Linked DNA regions of Homo sapiens: all the other regions are linked to region 3. The links are contacts of gene promoters, found by promoter capture Hi-C in blood cells and fetal thymus (Javierre and others, 2016). All regions are on one chromosome and are shown on one strand. Each heading gives the region's core, a stretch centred on a gene start or on the middle of the fragment in contact. The rest is flanking DNA. Distances are from core to core; before and after follow the strand shown. Region 1 overlaps TMCO4 (transmembrane and coiled-coil domains 4). Region 2 holds the start of NBL1 (NBL1, DAN family BMP antagonist). Region 3 holds the start of AKR7A2 (aldo-keto reductase family 7 member A2). Region 4 holds the start of MICOS10-NBL1 (MICOS10-NBL1 readthrough). Region 5 has its middle 19 kb from the start of MICOS10-DT. Region 6 overlaps TMCO4 (transmembrane and coiled-coil domains 4). Region 7 overlaps MICOS10-NBL1 (MICOS10-NBL1 readthrough).

Region 1 (3,093 bases), core at 392-2,891, 430 kb before region 3:
CACATGGCTGAGTCTAGAGGGGATGGGCAGGGCAGGGGTCCCCACTGCAGAGTTATGAAGCAAAGTGGGAGGGTACAGGGTGTGGAGACGAATTGGGGCCATCTCACACGTGACAAGGGCTTGAGCAGAAGGGATTGAGTCCATATATCAGAAATTCATGAGTTTCGGATTTCTTTGTTCTTTAGCAGTTTGATTGGCAAACTTGCAGGTCCAAGTTGGAGACTGCATGCATTTATTTGAGCATCTGTTAGCCAGTCACTTCCCTAGTAGGACCCTAGGACAGGGGCCATTCCCTTCATCACTATCTCACCTCCCCAGGCATTGTGGCTGCCCTGACCTGGCCAGCCTCACTCCTCAGTGTCGCCAATGTCATCGACAACCCCTGGGGGGTGTGTCTCCATCGATCAGCAGAGGTTGGCAAGCACCTGGCCCACATCCTGCTCTCCCGGCAGCAGGTACCTGGGAATGGCTGTGTGGGCGTGGCATTGAGCAAGAGGGGAAGTCAGGTGCTGACTTGTTCACAGATATCAGCCTTAGAGGCAAGGCTACTTGGAGATAACTCAATGGTTTTGGGGGTGTGGGCAGTCCTTGCTGCCTCTCCAGTTCAAGTAATGAATGTGTCCTAGGATGAACAGTAAAAATTATAGACTCTGCAGCTCTAGCAGGTATTTAGGTAAGGACTGAATAACAGGGCATCTGCAGGTAGGAACAAGTCTGGGGGACTCTGGCAGAAGCAAAAGTGGCTCCTATGTATCAGCTCTTCATTCAAGTGTTTAGGATAATCACTGGGCTCATTTGGGTGATATTTCAGTGGAAACCTCTGACGCAGTTTGCAGTGAAGCCAGTAAAGTGAATGAGACCAGGTGCTTCAGCTGGCCACCAATGGAATTCCCACATGCTGGTGGCCTGGTGTTCCTTCCCAGAAGTATAAAGCTACTTTGTGAGGTCATCTTTGGTGGTCTAAATACCATGTAAAATGGTTAGGAAGAGACATCATCATAATACTTTTAAAATTTGAATCTAGTAAAGATGTACTTACCAAGAGAATAAAACCATCCCCTTCAGAATAAAACTTGAGTGAATGGAGACAAAAGCTTGAGAAGCAGTACCAGAAATGACTGCATTGTCAGGATTTGTTTTGGCTGGAAGTGGGAGAAAACCCAAAATAACAGTGGCTTAAACAAGGTAGAAATTTATTTTCCTGGAGAAGCCTAGCAAGGTTGTCTAATAGCCTTCCATGGTGCAGAGGCCCAGGTTCCTGCTACCTTGTTGCTCTGGGGTCTTGACCTTGTATCAAAGATGGCATCATCCGAGCTCCAGGGAGCAGGAGAAAGGAAGAACTGAAGAAGAAACAGCAAAGCCTTACAACATTTCAGTTGGTGTCTCACTGGCCAGAGCCTAGTCACATGACCATTCCTAGCTGCCACAGAAGCTGGGAAATATAGTATTTATTCTGAGTGATGATGAACCCAGCTGAAATTCAATTACTATGGAAAAAAGGGAGGATGGATATTGAGGGATGACAACTAGCAGTTTCTGCCATGCAGCTAAACTGCTTGAGCAACTGGCCACCCCCTTCAATCCCTGCGTCTTTGTCAAAAGAAACAGAAAATCCTTCGGCAGGCTTGACTCTAAGGCAAAGGCCAAAGTGGCATTGGCTTAGACAAGATAGAATTTTGTTCTCTCCCAAGTAAGAGTCTGGGTGTCAATATCTGGAGCAAGATGATGTGTTAGTTTCCTGCTGCCACTGTTACAAATTACCACAAATTTACCAGCTGAAAACAAATGTACTATTTTACAGCTCTGGAGGTCAAAAGGCAAAAATGCATGCCTTAGGGAGGATCCCCTTTCCTTGCCCTGTGCTAAGTCTCAGCCCTGTGGCCACCTCAAGCTACGGAGGAGTCAGGGAAACTTCGTCTTTGGCTGGGTGGCCGTGTGCCCAGTCAAACTCAGGAGTAAAGGACAAAGGGGAGAATGATATTGGGCAGTGGCCAGCAGGGTTGGCACAAAGCTCCTGCAGGATTCGAATACTGTTTAACAGAGGATTTTCTACTGTGGTAAGTGGAGTGGTGTGGGGATGTGGAATACGTGTATTGGCACAAAACCAAGGAAAAGGAATAGACTGGTAAAACCAGGCTGGGCCTCCAGAGCTCATCCACTCCCCTCCTCTCCTTCCATGTAAGCTTGTACCCAAACACCCCCAGATAACTTTCATTTTCTTTAGAGTCTTGACATGATCAGTTACCTTTTCTTACAAGTCCTTGAGTCAGAAAATTCCTCTTTCCATCTGACTTACTACCTTATCTTATCACTTAGAGCCAATATTTTGTGCCCCACCTTCCTATCTAGAAACTGAACTGTTGTCCCTCCCTTGTCACTCTTGCCTTTTTACCCCTCACACCTGGGGGTGCCTTCTGTCTAATCTCCCCAGCTCCGGAAGGGGTCCCGCAGCACTGCAGCCATTTGCCGCAAGGCAGATCAGTGCAAGGGAAGTTGCTCTTGTAATTGACTAGCCCTGTCTCCTGGGGAAGATGAGACGGTGGCTGGATAATGATTTGAGATGAAAGGGAATTAACCCAGCCGGGGGCTGCCTGTTGGCCTTGGAGGAAGCCAATTCCAGCAGCAGGTGCACTCCTGCATAAATGAGGGTCCTGACTCTGCTGATTAAGACATCAGCGCTCAGGGACCGGAACAGCACATGCATGATTCATTAGATGAGAATCAGGTGGTAAGGAATGTGCAAAGGCTGCCCTCCTCAGGCCTGATGTTTTGCTAGAACTGGCAGTATTCCTTCCAGACACCTGTGTCCTTTTTCCCTTCAGGGGCGACGACCTGTCACCTTGATTGGCTTCAGCCTGGGAGCCAGAGTCATCTACTTCTGTCTGCAGGAGATGGCTCAAGAGAAAGGTGAGCATGGATTATTGTCACAGACGGAAACCCTTCACAAGCTTGTTCCCAGGGACAGATGTTCTGGGCCAGGGGCCATGAGCCTTGCAAAATGTGTTCCCAGTTCTTAGAAATAATAGTTAAAAGTTAAAAATAGTTTAAAAATCAAGAAAAATCGTCATCAACCTTGGGGAAATGATTTTATAT
Region 2 (2,700 bases), core at 39-2,538, 330 kb before region 3:
CAGGGACTTCCTTGAATGGTGCAACTGAAATTGTTGCTCTGTGAAGGGGCAAGGCAGTGTCAGGCTTGGGGCTCCCTGCTCACCCAGGTCAGGCCCCGGCTCTGGTCAGCCCAACCGGGTTTCCTGGGCTCACTCTGGGGTTTGAGGATGAGTTCTGGCCAAAGCTCATACATTGGCTTTCTGTGTGCCTGGAGTCAGGAGAGTCTAATGGTTATAGCTCGAGCCACTGACCATTTGCTTCCCCCCTCAGCTTCACGTTTGCATCTGTAAAATGGGCAGCCTGGCCTGGGAACGTCCATTTCAGCAGATCCCCCAGGGAGGAGCCTGGCTCCAGCATACTGCTTAAGGCCGCTGTGATTCCACGACCCCAGTCTCACGGCAGGGTGGCTTTTCCTTCCTTCCTTCAGCACTGGGGAGAGCATGAGTCAACTGTCCAGAGGGCGGACACACAGGGCCGACCCCGTGCCACCCAGGCCTGCCTGCATCTTCCAGCCCTGACCACCTCTGTGCCAGCCCCCAAACCCAGGCCACGGCCCTCCTTACCGCAGACCCTCCTGCCCGCAAACGAAAAACAGTCTCCAAAACAAATCCATGCTAATGAGCTGCTGCAGGGCCAGGCTGCACATCTGCTCAGCAGAAGTTCCACTGCAGACCTCACCAACAACCCTGCCCGCTCCGGCAGCCTCCGACCCTTGAGGTTGTGGGTGGGGGGAAGCAGCTAAACTCAGCCTGAAATTTCACTTTAAAATAATGAGGCGATATCCCTGGCCGATGCAGAACACCTACTCCCCTGTCCACCCCTCCAAAACACAGGCCCGGGAGAGAGGTCCAGCTTGCAGGGGTGGGTGGAGAGGGGTAGGGGTCACCGAGGAAACGCTGCAGCCTCGCCTTTTCTTTGGCCCCAACTCAAGGCAAACCACGCCCAAGCAGCCCCAGCATCTGGGGGAGTCTAGGGAGGCCCCATTCCGCAGTAACAAAGGGTGAGGGGCTCCTTGTTGACAAATTGCTTCCCCGCCAGCGCCCGGTCTTTGGCCTCCAGCCCTGACCTCTGTTTTCCTGGGGTGCCCCTAGTTACAGGCTGGTGGCGTCCAGCTTGGGGAGCGAGGGCCTCCGAAAGCCTGGAAGTGTGGCTTTCTCCCTTGATGCCCGCCAACCTCCGGCCACGCCAAGGCAGGCGGCTGCCCCCTTTGCCGCCGCTTGTAAACGATCAGAATCGCCCCGCCCTGGGAGCGGGCCGGGCAGGTGGCCCGCAGCAGGGCCTGTCGTCCAGCCGGCCTCGCGGGGGTGGAATTCTTAAGAAAACTGAGCCCCCGGAAAGGCTGGCTCTCCCTGCCCCAGACTCAATTCCAGGGAGATGACCCGGGCCAGGCCTCGGGGCCGGCGGGAGGCAGGGGGAGGGTTTGCCGCACCCGGTCTAGGAAACTATTCGTGAACCCCGCTGGGGGAAGGCGAGCCTCCGACACTGGGGGATTGTCTGGATCGGAGGGCGGGGGATCAGGGAGAGGCGCAGACACAGGGCGAGACCCCCACAGAGGGCAGCGCAGAGACAGAGAGAGGGAGAGAAAAGCCAGAGGCAGAGACACAAACGCGGGCAGCCGAACACGGAGGCAGGCGGGGAACGGAAAGAGACGGGCAGACCAGGGGAAAGTGAGCGGCGGAAACGGAGCGACGGAGAGACAGACACACGGACGTGGGGACCGAAGCAGAGGGGGCCGCGGGAGGCGGAAACGTCCAGAGCCGAGAGGCGCGGCGCGGCGAGGCCCGGGCACGGCCGGGGGACATGCGAGCCCGGCCCGCCCGGCCACGCATCTCCCTCCCTCGCTCCCTCTCTCCCCCGGCCGCGGAAACTCCGATCCAGAAACGGAACCCTGGGGCGAGTCTGGGGACGGGCTCCGGACGCGGCGGTGCCCCCCGGCCACCCCGTGCCGCGCCCACGTCCCCAGCGCCGGCGTCCGGAGGCGCCCGCCAGGTCCCCCAGGGCTCCTGAGCTCGGCGGCGGCGCCTCCACCCGGTGCCCGCGGCCGCCGGACGCGCCGGGGGACGCAGCTCCGGGCTGGGGGCGCGGCACTGCCCCCGCGGCCGAAGCCTCTGGAAGCCGGGCGCCCGCGTGCCGACCCGGGCGGGACTTACCGCGCGCGCCCGCCGGTCCTGCGGAGCTGGGTGCGGGGGTCGCGGGCCCGGGCGCCCCAGGAGGCTCGGCGAGGCGGCCGGCAGGGCGGGGGGCGGCCCCGCGACGCTCGGCTGGGCTGCGCTGCGCGCTGTCTGCGGCCCCGGGCGGGCGCGCGGCGCGGGGGAGCGGCTCCGACGTCAGGGTGGCTCCCTCCAAACAGGGCGCGAGGGCGGGGGCAGCGGGGAGGGCCGCGCGCAGAAAGAGCGGGCGGGCGCGCGCGGCCTCTCCCTCCGGGTGCGCAGGAGGGGGCGCCGCGGCGGCAGGGGCCCCGGGCCCTCTCCTGGCCCGCCCGCCCCGGGCTGAGCTTCGGCGCGCTCCGACGGCGTGGTGGGGCGGCCGGGACGCCTGGCCGGCGCCCGAGAGGCAGGGCAGCCCAGCCGGGCGCCCTGGCCCGTTCTTAAGCGCCCTCCCCGGGTTTCTCTGCGCTTCCACTCTCTCCGCCCGACTTTTACCGAGCCTGGGCCGTCAGGCCGTGCCAGGCCTCGGGGTGACAAAGATGGATGTGTCCTTTTTGTGGGCACCGGGCATTG
Region 3 (2,798 bases), core at 186-2,685:
CAAAGATGCCCCATGAGAGCTGGCTGGACAGGACCTTCCACCTCCTCCTCTCCCCTTGTCCACACACCTGAAGAACGCTACCACCGTCCTCTGCGACCACTGTCTTTGAAACGTACTCTCCCCACCCTGGGTTGTGCATTTCTTATTCTCCAGGTGTAAACACACCTAGAGGTTCAGCAAATGTTGAGAGACAGTGAGAGAAAGAGAGAGGTAGAGAGAAGGACAGAGTGAAGAAGAGAGGAAACGGGTGAGAAAGGAGAAAGGGTGGAAGAGAGAGAAGAGGAAGGAAAGGAGAAAGGAAGGGGAGAAAGCTGTGAGCTCGAACAGCCCAGGGTTGAGGAGAAAAGCACTCTGGAACAGACCTGCCCGATGCCTACCAGTCTGGAACTCAAGTGATTGAGCTTCGTAGTTCTCATCTGAAAAGTAGGGGAATAATGCAATACCCACCACCTAGGCTGACTGCAGAGTTAAATGAGACAATCCAGGCCAAGCGATTACAAGGGTGCCTGGCACTGGCACTCAACACCAACAGCCCAAAATGACTATTATTTGTTCTCATTGTAGCCCCTCCAGCGTCCGGGCACACAGGCGCCTTCAGTAAGCGTTGATTAGACATGACCTGTGACCCAGGCCCGGGACCCCTCACACTTCCAGACTCAGACTCTCCATTTACACGTTTGGAAACCTACCCTAAGCACGGCGTGGGAGGAGGCAGTGTAGGCCCTCGGTCCCTGCAGACCTGGGGAGATTGTGGAGGGAGGAGCGTCCCAGCTCGGGGCTACCACCCACTCCAGGCCTCGGCGTCCTCGGCCACAGCTCCCTCCTGGTGACTCAGCCCGGCGCGGGCCGCCTGTTTGGAGGGATAATGATAGGACAGCTGCTGGGGCCAGCGCCGCGAGGGCCCCTCGCCCGGCCGGCCCGGGAAAAACGAAGCCATCAGATGCCAAGGGGCCGGTCGGCCGGGGCAGGGCAACTCCTGGCCAGGCCAGCTCGAGAGGCCGCGCTGGTCGCCTTTGAGGTGGGGGGCCACTGGCTGCGGATTCCCGAGGGCCACCCAGTCCCGGCCCGGAGCCTCGTCCCACGATATCGCGCCACAAGGAGGGCGCAGGAGCCGGGACAGTCCAGCGGCCGGAGGAGAGGGCTGGAAGGATGTGGCAGGGAAGCCCAGGAGCCCCGACCCCCAGCCGTGAAGTTTGCCACCTGCCCCCGGTCCGGCTCACCACGTCCAGATCCGCCGCCAGGGCCCAGCTTCTGGGTCAAGGCCCGCCGGGTCAGCTGACCGCGCGCCACCGCCCCCGCGGGAACCGCAGGCCCCGCCCCCACGCCGCGCGCTGGGCTGACCGGGCCTGGAGGCGCCGCTGGGGCCGCGCCTGTTGTCCCCGCCCCCAACTGCCTCCGCGCTCCTCCCCGGCATGGGCGGGGCCCCCGGCTCCCAACGCGCAGGCGCCGCTGCTATGCTGAGTGCCGCGTCTCGCGTAGTCTCCCGCGCCGCCGTCCACTGCGCGCTTCGCTCTCCGCCGCCCGAGGCCCGCGCGCTCGCCATGTCCCGGCCACCGCCACCGCGGGTCGCCTCGGTGCTGGGCACCATGGAGATGGGGCGCCGCATGGACGCGCCCGCCAGCGCCGCGGCCGTGCGCGCCTTTCTGGAGCGCGGCCACACCGAACTGGACACGGCCTTCATGTACAGCGACGGCCAGTCCGAGACCATCCTGGGCGGCCTGGGGCTCGGGCTGGGCGGTGGCGACTGCAGAGGTAACAGTAGCTGCAGATCCTCCCCATGCATCGTGTAGAGCTGAGCCTGTCCCCAGCCGTGCACCACCCCGCTCGGGCCCGGCCGCGGGCAGCACCGACGGATTCGTCCCTCGCTCCCCACCCCAGGTCCACCCCGCAGCTCTGGGAACCCCGGGACAACTAGACAGTGCTTTGCCCTGACTCCTTTCCCCCACTCTCCTTCCCTTGGGAGTTGCAGCGCGAGAGTCTCCCCCCAGCCTGGTCTGACCCATCGCTTCCCACCTCCATTGATGCCCCCGCCTCCAAACCTGCCAGGTGCCCACAACCGGTCCCCACCCAGGCTCTCCCCCTTTTCTCTACCCCTTCGTTACCATCATCACGCATGCACACCCTGGGCACCCTTTTCTCATCCTGGCCTTTTCTTAACCACTAGAATTTGACCTGTGCAGCTGGCAGTACCTCTGCCTCTCTCAGGGAGAACTGTGGCGATGCCGTAAGGCTGGCTGGGAGAGTAGGAGTGTTAGGGAGTGCGGACGGGTCAGGGTGTAGGGACTTTCTATCCACTCTATGCCAGGCTTTGACTTGGGGCCATAGGAGGGAAAGTGATTCCAGCCCTCCACAGGGAGTTCAGAGTCTAATGAGGAAGATTGAAGTAATGATTGCTGGAGAGCCCAGAAGAGAGAGTACTTTAGGGAGCTGCAGGCCGGGGAGAGGCACTAGGGAAGGCTCAGCAAATGCTGGATGGAGCTCAGCCTTAAAGGCTCAATGGTAGGTTGGAGGAGAACAAGAGAAAGGAACATTAGAGTCTGTGCAAAGACTTGGTTTGGAAATGCAATGTGCGTGATGTGTGAAAGGAAGGCCACTGGGCAGGTGGGGCTTGAGTGGAGGATGGAGGGGACTGTCCCTCGTGAGCCTGGTGCCCTTGATAGCCCTTGGGAGGGTGCCTGGCACTCAGTGAGGGCCCAGGGAACGTGGGCTGTTACCCTTACCATGCTTCACCCACTGGACTATCCTGAGGCTGTTGCTCCCCACCCCTGAGGAGAGGTTCTCTCTGGGTCCTCCTGAGT
Region 4 (2,845 bases), core at 269-2,768, 280 kb before region 3:
CCTGCCACCTGCCAACCCCGACCACCTCCTCCGGGCTGCAACTCCACCCCGCACCCGGGCTGCTGCTCCGGCTCCTCGGGTCTGTGCCCGCCGCCCGAGTGACCTCCCGCCGGGGCCCGGGCGGCTCGCCCTGGCCGGAGGGGCCGGAAAAGGCCGAGAGGCCTGACCTCCCGTGGGGCTTCCCTTCCTTCCTCCTGGGCAGCGCAGCCTGGAGCCAGCAGCTCTGCACCGGCCGGGCCTGCTGGGGCGAAAAGCCCCTTACCTATCTTCACGACCGCATCCGCCAGACACCGGTCCCACTTCCTGCCGAGCTCCGACTCAGACATGTTCCCCACCCGCGCCTCCAGCTTTCCTCTCGGCCGGCCCCCGCGCTCCGACCCCTGAAAGTCTCGCGAGAGCTGGAAACAAGTCCCAGGTCAGGAAGGCAGGCGCAGACGCTCCAGATATCGCGAGATGATCCGCTGCTTCCATCCCTTCCGGTTTTTTCAGTTGGTCGTCAAGGTGACGAGTTGTCTGGAGGCTCGAGGTGACCCTGACCTTGGGGCTGCGCCTATGGGTTTGCGAGGCTGACAGTTTCCTAGGCGTCACCCCAAGCCGTGACCAGGCCTTTCCTCCTCACCAAAGTGCGACATTGGCCCTGGAAATCCCCCGGGCAAGAGAGGGTACAGACTTGATTTATTCATTCATTAACGTACTCACCTTCACTTTCCCTACTCACTCTCTCATTCGTTCACTGGTTTCTTGCATTGGAATTCCCGCCTGAACCACTAACACCGAAACTGCTCTGGGAAAGATTACCTACCGCCAAATCAAATGGACTCTTTTCTGACCTCTGTACCGCATTCCACACAATTTTCCCTCCCTCTGATCCTCCCTGGCTCCTCTATTCGTTTCACTCCCGGTAACGCCACTCTTTCCTCTTCTCCCCATCTGCTGTTGTCTGTTGGTTTCCTCCAGGGCTGCCTTTTCTCTGCCAGCTGTTTAAGGACTGTTGGTTCGCAAGCTTCCATCAATTCTCTTTTCACTGTACAGACTCTCCCTGAGTAATTGCAAACACTGCCAAATTATATCTCCAGGTAAAACGTCTACCTCAGGCCTCCTATCCATGTATATATTTACACACCCACCCACACACACACACACATACACATACATACACAGGGTGCCCTCTGTATCTGTGGGTTTTGCATCCATGGATTTAACCAACCATGGACCAGAAACATTTTTGAATCAAATAAAAAATAATGCAAAATTTAAAATACAGTACAACTATTTACCTAGGATTTACATTGTATTAGGTATTATAAGTAACCTAGAGATGATTTAAAGTATATGGGAGCCAGCGCAGTGGCATGCGACCGTAGTCCCAGCTACTTGGGAGGCTGAGATGGGAGGATTGCTTGAGACTAGGAGTTCGACTTCATCTCTTTAAAAAAAAATAAGTAATTTTAAAAAAGGATATGTAAGCATGTGTGTAGGTTGTATGCAAATACCACGCCATTTTATATATGGGACTTGAGCATCCTGCATTTTGGTAACTGCGAGATCCTGAAACCAAATGCCCACAGCTATCAAGAGAGATTGTATATCCAGCCTACTGGCTAGTGTCATTGATTTTAGTCTTCCATCCTACCAACAAATAGAAATCTGACCACGTTATGCCTCTGATTAGAAGCTGTCAATGAAGGCCGAGAGCAGTGGCTCACACCTGTAATCCCAACACTCTGGGAGGCTGAGGCGGGAGGATTGTTTGAGGCCAGTAGTTCAAGACCAGCCTAGGCAGCATAGTGAGACTCCTGTCTCTACAAAAAATTTAAAAAATTAGCCAGGCTAATGTGATGTGTGCCTTTAGTCCCAGCTACTTAGGAGGCTGAGGTAGGAGGATCACTTGAGCCTGGGAAGTGGAGGCTACACTGAGCCATGTTCATGCCACTGCACTCCAGCCTGGGCATCAGAGTGATACCCTATCACAAAAGAAAAAAAAAAAAAGCTGTCAATGACTCCCATTCATACACTGGATCTATCCAAGCTTCAACACTGCACTGATTCTAGGAAGCCTAGTCAGATAGAGCTTAGAGCTGCCTTCCCCTTCTCATTGTCCCACTACCCTGCCTACCCGCATTGATTTCTCTATCTAGTACTGAAACATCTGGTTGTAGATATTATCTGCTAGTAGAACTAGAAGTTGCCCCTTCGTCTTCATACTTCCAGTCAGAGCACAATGCCTTGGATAGTAGGGTCTTCTATGAAATATTTGTTGAACTGAATTGAATTTATTCACCTATTTATTTGTTTATTTATTTATTGAGAGAGAGTCGCGCTCTGTTGCCCAGGCTGGAGTGCAGTGGCACGATCTCGGCTCACTGCAACCTCTGCCTACTGGGTTTGAGCAATTCTTCTGCCTCAGCCTCCAAAATAGCTGGGATTACAGGCGCCCACCACCACGCCTGGCTAACTTTTTGTATTTTTTTAGTAGAGATGGGGTTTCGCCATATTGGCCAGGCTGGTCTTGACTCCTGGCCTCAAGTGATCCACCCACCTTGGCCTCCCAAAGTGCTGGGATTACAGGCATCGTTCAACTATTTATTTGCAACTATGACAGCAAAACTCTGTTGTATCAGATCTTGCTACGACAGCCTCTTCCTTCAAGATAACTTCTATGACCACCCTTCCCTTCTCCTAGTTCTCTATTTTTTTAAATTATTCTTTCTTTTTTTTTTTTTTTTTGAGACAGAGTCTTGCTCTGTCACCCAGGCTGGAGTGCAGTGGCATGATCTTGGCTCACTGCAACCTCTGCCTCCCAGGTTCAAGAGATTCTCCTGTCTCAGCCACCTGAGTAGTTGGG
Region 5 (2,946 bases), core at 23-2,522, 270 kb before region 3:
TGGAGTAGTTGGAGCCAAAGTCCAAATGCAGTGTGTTTGAGAGAGACTAGGAGGAGAGGGGCTGGAGGCAGCAAGTGCACACAATCTTTTCTAGAAGTTTATTTCCAAAGAGGGACGAAAAAGGGCAATAGTTTGAGAAGGGGTGGGTTTGACAGTGGGTTTTTTTAGAATGGGAGAACTTGCTCATGTTTGTATGTGGATGGGAATGATTCAGTAAAGAGGGTAAAACTGATGATGCAAGAAGAGAGAGGAGGGCCAGGCACTGTGGCTCATGCCTGTAATCCCAGCACCTTGGGAGGCCGAGGTGGGTGGATCACTTGAGGTCAGGAGTTCGAGACCAGCCTGGCCAACATGGTGACACCCCGTCTCTACTAATAATACAAAAATGAGCTGAGCGTGGTGGCAAGTGCCTGTAATCCCAGCTACTTGGGAGGCTGAGGCAGGAGAATCACTTGAACCCAGAAGGCAGAGGCTGCAGTGAGCTGAGATCGCACCACTGCACTCCAGCCTGGGCGATAGAGGAAGACTCTGTCTCAAAAAAACAAACAAACAAACAAAAAAAGGATAAAAGAGGCCGGGCCTGGTGGCTCACGCCTGTAATCCCAGCACTTTGGGAGGCCAAGGTGGGTGGATCATGAGGTCAAGAGTTTGAGACCAGCCTGGCCAACATGGTGAAACCCCATCTCTACTAAAAATACAAAAATTAGCCGGGCATGGTGGTGCATGCTTGTAGTCCCAGCTACTTGGGAGGCTGAGGAAGGAGAATGGCTTGAACCTGGGAGGTGGAGGTTGCAGTGAGCCGAGATCGTGCCACTGCACTCCAGCCTGGGCGACAGAGTGAGACTCCATCTCAAAAAATAAATAAATAAAATAAAAGAGAAAAGAAATGCCGAGACTTTCTATTCCAGAGGGCTAGAAGTAGAAGGTTTATTTCTAAGAAAAGGGAGAATGCTAGACATCTGGAATTTCCTCTCCATGGATGCCTGGGTCTCTGGGGCCCAACTTTTAAAGTTGAACACTTATTTTTTGATGTGGTTAGAATCCCTGAGCCCAAAATATGTTCCCAAGAGTATTTAATTAAATGGGAATCTGGTGTGCATCTGTGACTAATTAATGCTGATCAAAAACAATTAAATATTAAATGTCAGTGGTTTCTTACCTGGTTTCTTACCAATAATTGCAAAGGGCTGAATGCAATTATCAAGTCCTGACCTCCATAAGAGCCAAGTTCACATTAAAATAATGAACGACTGAAACAGAGCCAATGAAAGAGCAGATTTTGTGAATGTTTTAAAAATTGAAGCAATGAAATGCTAATCATCAGGGCAAAGGTATTAGTCAGAGTTCTCTTCCTCAGCCTATGGATGTAGAAGGGTCCTCTCTCCAAGAGAAAGAACGGAAGCCCCGCTTAGCAATGTAGCAAACATTTCTAACAGTTCTCCTTATAGTAAAATGTTTTCATGTGCTGATAACTGTTATAGGATATAAATATATATAATGATGTAATTCACTCAACAAGTATTTGATGAGGACTTGATTTGGCCAGGTTCTATGCTAAGCTCTGGGAATAAAGAAACACTGAAGAACTCTCTATCTTCAAGGTCTAGTCTAAATACCCTAACACCCACCATTATCAGAACCACCTGGTGTGTGTTGCCCTTTCCCTCTCTGGTTCAATTAGTATGATTAGGGGCTGCTGTTGTCTCCTGGTTTCCTAAATAATATACATATTTTTAAATTTATTGTACTGCTTATTTTGGAGTGATTTTAAAAGATGGTAGCAGAAATGCCTTTATTGTGCCATCTTGAAGCTGGCAGGCCCCCACGCCCCTCGTGGTCCTGGTGAAAGGTGAGACACATCAAGTGGATCCCACAGATGAACTGCTTCTTCCCTTTGGGAGCAATGTGGGGGATTGAAGAACAAAGACCAAAGGCAGTGGCGTGGATCCATATGGTTGTTGAGAGCCAGAAGAATGAGTCAAGCCCAGCAGATCATCCAGCAAAGACATGGGTGGAGGATAGAAACCGTAATGTAAAGCCAAAACAAAGTCAGCTGAGAACCAAGAAATTTATGAACAAGGAGTAGCAGAGTGGAAAAACGAGGTAGTCTGGGAGGATTCCAGAGACAAACTGGGGATGTTGTGGCAACTTTATTTTTTTATTTTTTTGAAATGAAATCTCACTCTGTCACCCAGACTGGAGTGCAGTGGTGCAATCTCGGCTCACTGCAATCTCTGCCTCCCGGGTTCAAGCAATTCTCCTGCCTCAGTTTCCCGAGTAGCTGGGGCTACATGCGCGCGCTACCACGCCCGACTATTTTTTTTTATTTTTTGTATTTTTAGTAGAGATGGGGTTTTGCCATGTTGACCAGGCTGGTCTTGAACTCCTGGCCTCAGGTGATCCTCCTGACTCGGCCTCCCAAAGTGCTGGGATTACAGGCATGAGCCACAGTTCTGGGTCTCTTGTGGCAACTTTAAATCTCACCCCTGCGCTGACTTGAATATGCTGCTCAGGTCATTTCAGGGGATTGTGGTGGTCGAACGGCCTGATGCTATATCCTCCACTGGCCATTTCTAAAGTGAGGAGTAAGCCCCCTTCAGGAAAGCCTGAGTTCAGAGCCTTTGTAAACTGTAAAGCTATAGGAAGTACTCATTTGATGTTCTTGCGATGGTGCTTGGTACTTCAAATTCTTTATCTGTAAAGAGAAGACAACTTCAATTCTCTCCACCTATTTTACAGCTGCATAGGGATGCTGTGTGGATTAATGAGACCTTCAGCCTGACTTTCCCCCTTGGCTGTGCAGGATGCTCCTAAAAGGGACTGTTTATCCTGAGGTTCAGACACATCTGTCTTTAGCTTAAAGCTGAATGCAAGAAGCTTAAATGCTTATTACTAAATGAAAGAAGCCAATCTGCAAAAGTTGCATAGTATATGATTTCAACTATA
Region 6 (3,127 bases), core at 86-2,585, 390 kb before region 3:
GGATTACAGGCATGTGCCACCACCCCGGGATAATTTTTGTGTTTTTAGTAGAGACTGGGTTTTGCCATGTTGGCCAGACTGGTCTCAAACTGCTGGCCTCAAGCAATCCACCGACCTTGGCCTCCCAAAGCACTGGGAATACAGGTGTGAGCCACCGTGCCCAGCTGCCAGTCTCTAAGTAATCAGATCTTTCATGAACTAATAAACTGAGATCTCACCCATCACCAAGAGAAGGGCACCAAGCCATTTATGAAGGATCCACCCCCATGACCCAAACAGCTCCCACCAGGCCCCACATCACATTTCAGCATGAAATCTGGAGGGGACAAACGTCCAAACCATTTCAAAGAGGGAACAGCAAGGCCAGTGTGGCTGGAGCACAGAGAATGAAGGGAAGGTCAGGCAGGGCTTCGAGGCCATTGCAATGACTTTAACTTTGACTCCATGAGAGATGGGTCCCCTGGGAGGTTTTTAAGCACAAAGGTGACATGATCTGACTTCACTGCAGTATAATTTATGTACCACAAGACCCACCCATTTTAAATGCACAATTTAATGATTTTTAGGACATATATAGAGCTGTGCAATCATCACCAAATCCAATTTTAGAACATTTCCATCAATCTAAAAAGACATCTCATGCCTATGACTGAGAATGTAAAGTGATCAGCTGGGCTCCTGTGTTTAAAATAGCAATAAGAGGTAGAGGCAAAGAAAGTGTTGGAAAGAAACATTTTTTTTCACGGCACATGTGAATGACAATAAGTTCTAAGAGCTGAGGGGTAAAGACATGACTGATGAAGCTTTTCCAACTACTGCAGGTTTGGAACTGCCTTAATGCCAAAGTTATAATAGGATGAAAGGCCTTCAGCTCTCACAGTAAAAATAGGATATTAATAACTTAGCGAGAACTGTTTAAAAATGAGAAATGCAAGCATAAACGCTCTACATGTCTATGACTCGACTCCTGAACTTGAAGTTAATCCCTGCCCTCTTTTACATAAAAAGTCTGAATATTTCTAAAGCTATATAGGGCTCTCCTAATGTCTTGAAAATTTACAAGAAGAAAAGCTGATGGTAGCGGTAGGAATAAATCCCAAACATGTTTCAGCAAACACTCATTGTCCATGCAGTGAAAGGGCAGTGAGGTCTTCTCATATCCATTATTATTGAAATGTTTAAATCTCAGTTTCTTTTGTCGGTCTTGAAAACCGGGGGCATTCTACACTGAATCCACATGATGATCTGAAGGATTTTCTGTCCCTGTGGAAGGGACTTGCTTGACACTGCAAGTGGTACCTGGGCCAGATGCGGTGGCTCACTCTTATAAATCCCAGCACTTTAGGAGGCTAAGGTGGGAGGATTACCTGAGTCCAGGAGTTTGAGACCAGCCTGGGCAACATAGCAAGACCTCATCTCTACTAAAATTTAACAAATCAGCCAGGTGTGATGATGACAGACACCTGTAGTCCCAGCTACTTGGGAGGCAGAGGTAGGAGAATCACTTGAGCCTGTGAGGTCGAGGCTGCAGTGAGCCACAATTGCGCCACAGCACTCCAGCCTGGGCAACAGAGGGAGACCCTGTCTCAAAATTTAAATTAAATTAAAAAGTGGTACCCGAGTGAGGATTTTCCGTAGTTTACCTGGAAGGCTGAATTATTCTAGTATTATAAGGTTTTGAACCAAACAGTGGATTTTGACTGTTTTTTTTTTTCCTTTCCAGCAGCTATGACAGCAGCCAGTATCGTCTTTTTCCTAACCTAAATAGGTTTCCCCTCCTACACCATCCCGTTCTAGGAACAGTCAGGTGGTAATGGGCTCTGACTGCCTATCCATATCTACCTTGGGTGGGTCTAAGGCAAGCTTGTCCAACCAGTGGCCTGCTGGCCACATGCCACCCAGGATGGCTTTGAATGCAGCTCAACACAAATTAGTAACGTTCCTAAAACATGAGTTGTTTTTTTTTTTGCAATTCTTTTTTTTATTTTTTTATCTCATCGACTATTGTGTTAATTTATTTTTATTTATTTGTTTATTTATTTATTTATTTATTTTTGAGATGGAGTCTGTCTCTGTCGCCCAGGCTGGAGTGCAGTGGTACCATCTTAGCTCACTGCAATCTCCGCCTCCTGGGTTCAAGCGATTCCCCTACCTCAGCCTTCCGAGTAGCTGGGACTACAGGCACCCACCACCACGCCTGGCTAATTTTTGTATTTTTAGTAGAGACAGGTTTTTGCCATGTTGGCCAGGCTGGTCTCAAACTCCTGACCTCAGGTGATCCATCCGCCTCAGCCTCCCAAAGTGCTGGGATTACAGGTGTGAGCCACGGTGCCCGCCTAGTGTTAGTGTATTTTATGTGTGGCTCAAGTCAGTTCTTCCAATGTGGCCCACGGAAGCCAAAAGATTGGACACCCCTGGTCTAAGGTGGTTCTTGCCAACCGCCCTTAGCTAACACCATGCATTGCTGAGAGCCTGCCACGTAGCTTATCTCCAGGTCAGCAGCGACAAAGAGAGCAAATCTTTAAAATCTAAGGGTACATCTGGGCATGGCAGTGGTCTAAGGAGGAAAGGGGGAGGGTCCCAGCTAGGCAGCTGCCAGCCCAGCTTCAGAGATGGGTAAATGTGTTGCCAGCTTGGTTTGGCTGTGCTCAGGACTATTTTATGGGGTTCAACTACGAGTCTCAGTTCAAGGTCACAGGCGGCTCCCTTTTTAGGTTTTCCTGAAGCTCAGCTGTCCGTGGATCCTGACTGTGGCTCAGGAATGCTGCTATTACCACCGCTGGCCACAAGGGGTCCCAGCCCTGCAGGCAGCCGCACCAAGGCTCGAAAAGCAGTCCCAGCTCTTAGCAGGGCAGACTCTGCCAGGCAGAGAAGGCGCCCTGAATGGCCGGCCCCCAGAGAAAGCTGCTGAGCTCATGGTTATCCCTGGGTCCACAACCATTTGGCACTGTAGGAGCAACGATAACCCGCATATGATCACTGTGCACGTTGTTATTGCAGACAGCAGAGAGAAAGGCCCCAGGGACCAGCAGCTCTGCGTGCAGTCTGCGTTCTGCTCCCAGGCTTATTCTCATTGGCTGTGTGACCTTGGGCAAGCCCCATCCCCTCTCTGACCCTGTTTCCTCGT
Region 7 (3,148 bases), core at 515-3,014, 310 kb before region 3:
TTCCATCTCAGAAATAAATAAATAAATAGTAAGAAAACAAGTGGAAGGGATGAAACAGGCTGCACATTATTTTTCTTTCAATTATATGGGTTGCCTTAATCATAGAATGAAGAGGACCAAGTGAAAAACAGCCAAGTAGCAATAAAGAGGAAAACAAGCCCAGAGGGCAGAGGAGCCTGGACAGTTTGCAGGGCAGAGCCTAGCAGACCTTTCTGGAAAAGGGAGTGGGGAGGCTGAGGGAGGGTATTTGCTACCCTGAATGTACTCACTATAGCACTTGCAAGAACTAAGGTCTAATCAATGTTCCAGAACTGGAGTCAGACATGAGTTGTACCCTATTGCCCAGCCTCCCCCTCCATGCCTTTCCCCTGCCCCTACACACCCTGGCTATGCTGAACTACTTGCGATTTCCCAGCTATAATATGCATTACATGATCCTGAGCAAACACAGAGGCTACCCTCCTTCTGTCTGGGATTCCCAGTCAACTTCGGGTCCCAGCGCAGGCATTCCGTCGCCTGTGGGGCCATCCTAGGGAGACATAGTTGCTCCTTCTCCTTTGTTCTCAGTGTACTTTGCCTACACCTCTCTTCTCCATTAAAACACTTCTTTCAGAGTTGTGTTTGCACGTCTGTCTTTCCATCAGACTCTAAGCTCCTTGAAGGCAGAAGCCTGTGTCTATTTATCCATTTATCTCTGCTGCTTACAACAGTGCCTCGCTTACAGTAGATGATAAATCAACATTTACAGGATACAGGGGCAAGTGGGATCGGGCTCTCCCTATCTTAATTCTACGATAAGGAAAAAGAAATAAGAACGGCTGAGCGCTGGGGTTCTGTATATCGTCTGAAGAAATTGCTAAAATATGACTTTTGCATCTAGCATCCCTGGTTCAAGTGAAACCACAGGAACAAACTCAGAGGGGCATCAGAAGTGGCCCTTTTGTCCTCAAACTTCAGCTGCTACGTGAAGATAAAATTAACCCCAATCGGGCTCCTCCGGCCAGGTGGGTATGCCATGAGCTTTCCTCCGCCCTCCAGAGCTGAAGCTTGGACTGTCTCAAGCTCTATGAAGCTGCAGGACTTGACTTCAATGGAGTGGGCCATCCACACAGCCAGGATTCTTCCCCTGCTAATACAGCAGCAGTGGGACCGCCTTGCAGTAGGCACAGCGGAGATGTGCCCTGCCAGGTCCCCAGGTGAGAACACACGAAGAGGTGCCACAGAAGGAAAGGCGCCTTAAGACATCAGTCATCTCCATCAGGCCACGCAGCAGCAATCTTCAACTTCTGATTACGAGGTGGAAGCAGTTCTGAAAACTACGCCTGAGGGGGCAAATGGGAAGGATACCCAACAACTGGTTTCAGGGGGTTCTCAGAGAGGCTGTGAGCAGGTGGCTACAGCTGCTGGCAGTTCACACACAGTCCTCCTCATGCTCAGAGACCAAAGGTGAAGAAACAAAGGCCATGCAATGGACTTCCTCTTTTTGTTTAATTTATTTAAGACCACCTCCTTACAACTTCCAGAGAGAAAATACAAAACAAGAAACAGACTTGGTTTCAAATGCATAACCAGGTGCTGGAGTTTAAAGCATTACTGATAACATTGTTACAGAAGAATGGCAGCTTACTCCAGGGCACTTCAGTATTCCTGAGGAATAAACATGATTTCTCTTGTCCTCCCGCTGGGATGTTCTCAGGTGAAGTCACTGCTCCTGCTCCTGTAAAGCAAGGACATTCAGCTTAAAACTGTGCAGACGGCATTCTGACAACCCTCTCTAATTGCTGTATCAGGTCAGACCCAAAGGGCCAGAAGCCAAAACCTTATCACACTGTTTACGTTAAAACTGTCTCACAACAGGACTATGTACACCCTACCTAGGTTCCTAAGAGTGCCATCCAGCCCCAATCTTCCAGGGAGAAGAGTGGGAAACGAGTGGAACAGGGCCAAACCATCATGACCTGGATAACAATTCCTAAAACCTGTCGAAGGCGTCCCAGGGGAGTGGGGAGAGCATGGTTCTCATCAGCCTACGAACTACATGGCCTTGCCAAGTTTCTCAACCCCGGTAAGAGTCTGCTTTCTCATCAGCTGAATGAGGATAGTAACATCTCTCACAAATCAACTGGCAGGTCTAGAGGGAAAGATTATTAAAGATAAAGCACCCAGGATGGTCCTGGGGGCAGATTGGGCACTCAGGAGGCAGTTATTACAATAGGACTACACTGAATAAGCCCAGGTTGGGATTTTGCTCCATTTTTCAGGGAATGGAGGATGACAACATCGAGGCACAGACTCAAGTCCAGATAAAGTTACAAGGCCATTTTGGAGCAGGACACACAAATGTAAAAAATGGAACAATATTTTCCACAGGAACTCCCAGCCATTAAATACATAATATGCATATAATCACCCCTGAGCCATTATCCCTGACAACTCAGTTTGGAACAATGGAAATGTTTTAAGCAAAAGACCTGAAGCTTCTCTGTCTGCTCCTTTCGGTTCTCCCCACAATCAGCTCTGATGCCAGGAAAGCGAGGAGCCAGGGAGTGGTGGAAAAGGCCGGCTGCCGGCTTCAGTGCCACACAGCTGCGCCTCTTCTTGCATGGTCCCTGTGATGACCTCACTCTTGCTTTGGTGCAGAGATGGCTCCCCTACTCCCATCTCTCCAGCAGACATGGGCTGGCTGCAGGCAGCTGACGGTTTCAGCAGGTTCTAAAATGGCAGGTGCAGGGCCGTGGCAGGATACTGCTACTTTGGATTTGGTGGCCCTTGTGGCCACAGCTCCTGACTAGAATTAGGACATGCATTTGTACCACATTTTCCACTCTACTTGTTGTTACAGTGGAACAATGGACAAGTCAATCACCCTTTTTGGGCTGGCCTCATCTATAATAACCAATGTTTTTATATATTTCGTACTTCACAGCTTAAAAACATTTTGTGTCTAAATCTCACAACAACACTATAGGTAGAAATTATTACCCTCATTTTATGGAGGAAAATGGAAGCTCAGAAGTGAAACAACTTAAGATCACACAGGAAGCAAGTGACAGGCTTGCACCTAGGTCTCCTGGCTTCTGTGCCCTTTCCACTAGCCCCACTGCAGCCCCGTTCACAGTGATTCTAGCCCAAGAGTAACCTGGAAAGC

The links. The method cuts DNA at HindIII sites, captures the fragments that hold promoters and counts their contacts. A CHiCAGO score of 5 or more calls a contact.
Region 1: a contact is called between a fragment that was not itself captured here and the fragment with the promoter of AKR7A2 in region 3, in 1 of 17 cell types (total CD8 T cells). The highest score is 5.0, in total CD8 T cells.
Region 2: a contact is called between a fragment that was not itself captured here and the fragment with the promoter of AKR7A2 in region 3, in 4 of 17 cell types (non-activated CD4 T cells, erythroblasts, activated CD4 T cells and 1 more). The highest score is 6.1, in non-activated CD4 T cells.
Region 4: a contact is called between a fragment that was not itself captured here and the fragment with the promoter of AKR7A2 in region 3, in 4 of 17 cell types (neutrophils, fetal thymus, monocytes and 1 more). The highest score is 7.1, in neutrophils.
Region 5: a fragment that was not itself captured here is called in contact with the fragment with the promoter of AKR7A2 in region 3 in 2 of 17 cell types (neutrophils and activated CD4 T cells); the score reaches 6.7 in neutrophils.
Region 6: a fragment that was not itself captured here is called in contact with the fragment with the promoter of AKR7A2 in region 3 in 2 of 17 cell types (total CD4 T cells and naive CD4 T cells); the score reaches 7.1 in total CD4 T cells.
Region 7: a fragment that was not itself captured here is called in contact with the fragment with the promoter of AKR7A2 in region 3 in 1 of 17 cell types (erythroblasts); the score reaches 5.3 in erythroblasts.

Annotation. Positions count from the first base shown.
Region 1 is chr1:19,737,186-19,740,278 of GRCh38, reverse strand. It overlaps TMCO4 (transmembrane and coiled-coil domains 4), which reads left to right. Exons shown (of 16, transcript NM_181719.7): 12 at 319-455; 13 at 2,823-2,907. Among named protein-coding and RNA genes, the nearest start is that of TMCO4, 61 kb to the left of the region's middle. The HindIII fragment of the contact is 1,089 bases long and covers 1,097-2,185 here.
Region 2 is chr1:19,643,877-19,646,576 of GRCh38, reverse strand. The region is part of intron 1 of MICOS10-NBL1 (MICOS10-NBL1 readthrough); the gene reads right to left. NBL1 (NBL1, DAN family BMP antagonist) reads right to left here and starts at 2,266. Exons shown (of 4, transcript NM_005380.8): 1 at 2,131-2,266. RefSeq lists a silencer at 2,181-2,520 and an enhancer at 2,419-2,700. The HindIII fragment of the contact is 7,360 bases long and covers 1-2,700 here.
Region 3 is chr1:19,310,781-19,313,578 of GRCh38, reverse strand. It overlaps AKR7A2 (aldo-keto reductase family 7 member A2), which reads left to right and starts at 1,435. Exons shown (of 7, transcript NM_003689.4): 1 at 1,435-1,752. The coding sequence starts at 1,455. It overlaps SLC66A1 (solute carrier family 66 member 1), which reads right to left and starts at 1,253. Exons shown (of 8, transcript NM_001040125.2): 1 at 690-1,253. RefSeq lists silencers at 944-1,033, 1,114-1,753 and an enhancer at 1,345-1,844. The HindIII fragment of the contact is 20,070 bases long and covers 1-2,798 here.
Region 4 is chr1:19,594,527-19,597,371 of GRCh38, reverse strand. MICOS10-NBL1 (MICOS10-NBL1 readthrough) reads right to left here and starts at 393. Exons shown (of 4, transcript NM_001204089.2): 1 at 263-393. MICOS10 (mitochondrial contact site and cristae organizing system subunit 10) reads right to left here and starts at 393. Exons shown (of 4, transcript NM_001032363.4): 1 at 263-393. The coding sequence starts at 326. MICOS10-DT (MICOS10 divergent transcript) reads left to right here and starts at 540. Exons shown (of 2, transcript NR_135054.1): 1 at 540-662. RefSeq lists a silencer at 1-180 and an enhancer at 301-600. The HindIII fragment of the contact is 1,026 bases long and covers 1,006-2,031 here.
Region 5 is chr1:19,576,253-19,579,198 of GRCh38, reverse strand. No RefSeq gene overlaps it. Among named protein-coding and RNA genes, the nearest start is that of MICOS10-DT, 19 kb to the left of the region's middle. The HindIII fragment of the contact is 3,214 bases long and covers 1-2,879 here.
Region 6 is chr1:19,704,380-19,707,506 of GRCh38, reverse strand. The region is part of intron 13 of TMCO4 (transmembrane and coiled-coil domains 4); the gene reads left to right. Among named protein-coding and RNA genes, the nearest start is that of HTR6, 41 kb to the right of the region's middle. The HindIII fragment of the contact is 1,060 bases long and covers 806-1,865 here.
Region 7 is chr1:19,624,956-19,628,103 of GRCh38, reverse strand. All of the region lies in intron 1 of MICOS10-NBL1 (MICOS10-NBL1 readthrough), which reads right to left. It overlaps MICOS10 (mitochondrial contact site and cristae organizing system subunit 10), which reads right to left. Exons shown (of 4, transcript NM_001032363.4): 4 at 1-1,717. The coding sequence ends at 1,703. Among named protein-coding and RNA genes, the nearest start is that of NBL1, 18 kb to the left of the region's middle. The HindIII fragment of the contact is 1,431 bases long and covers 1,049-2,479 here.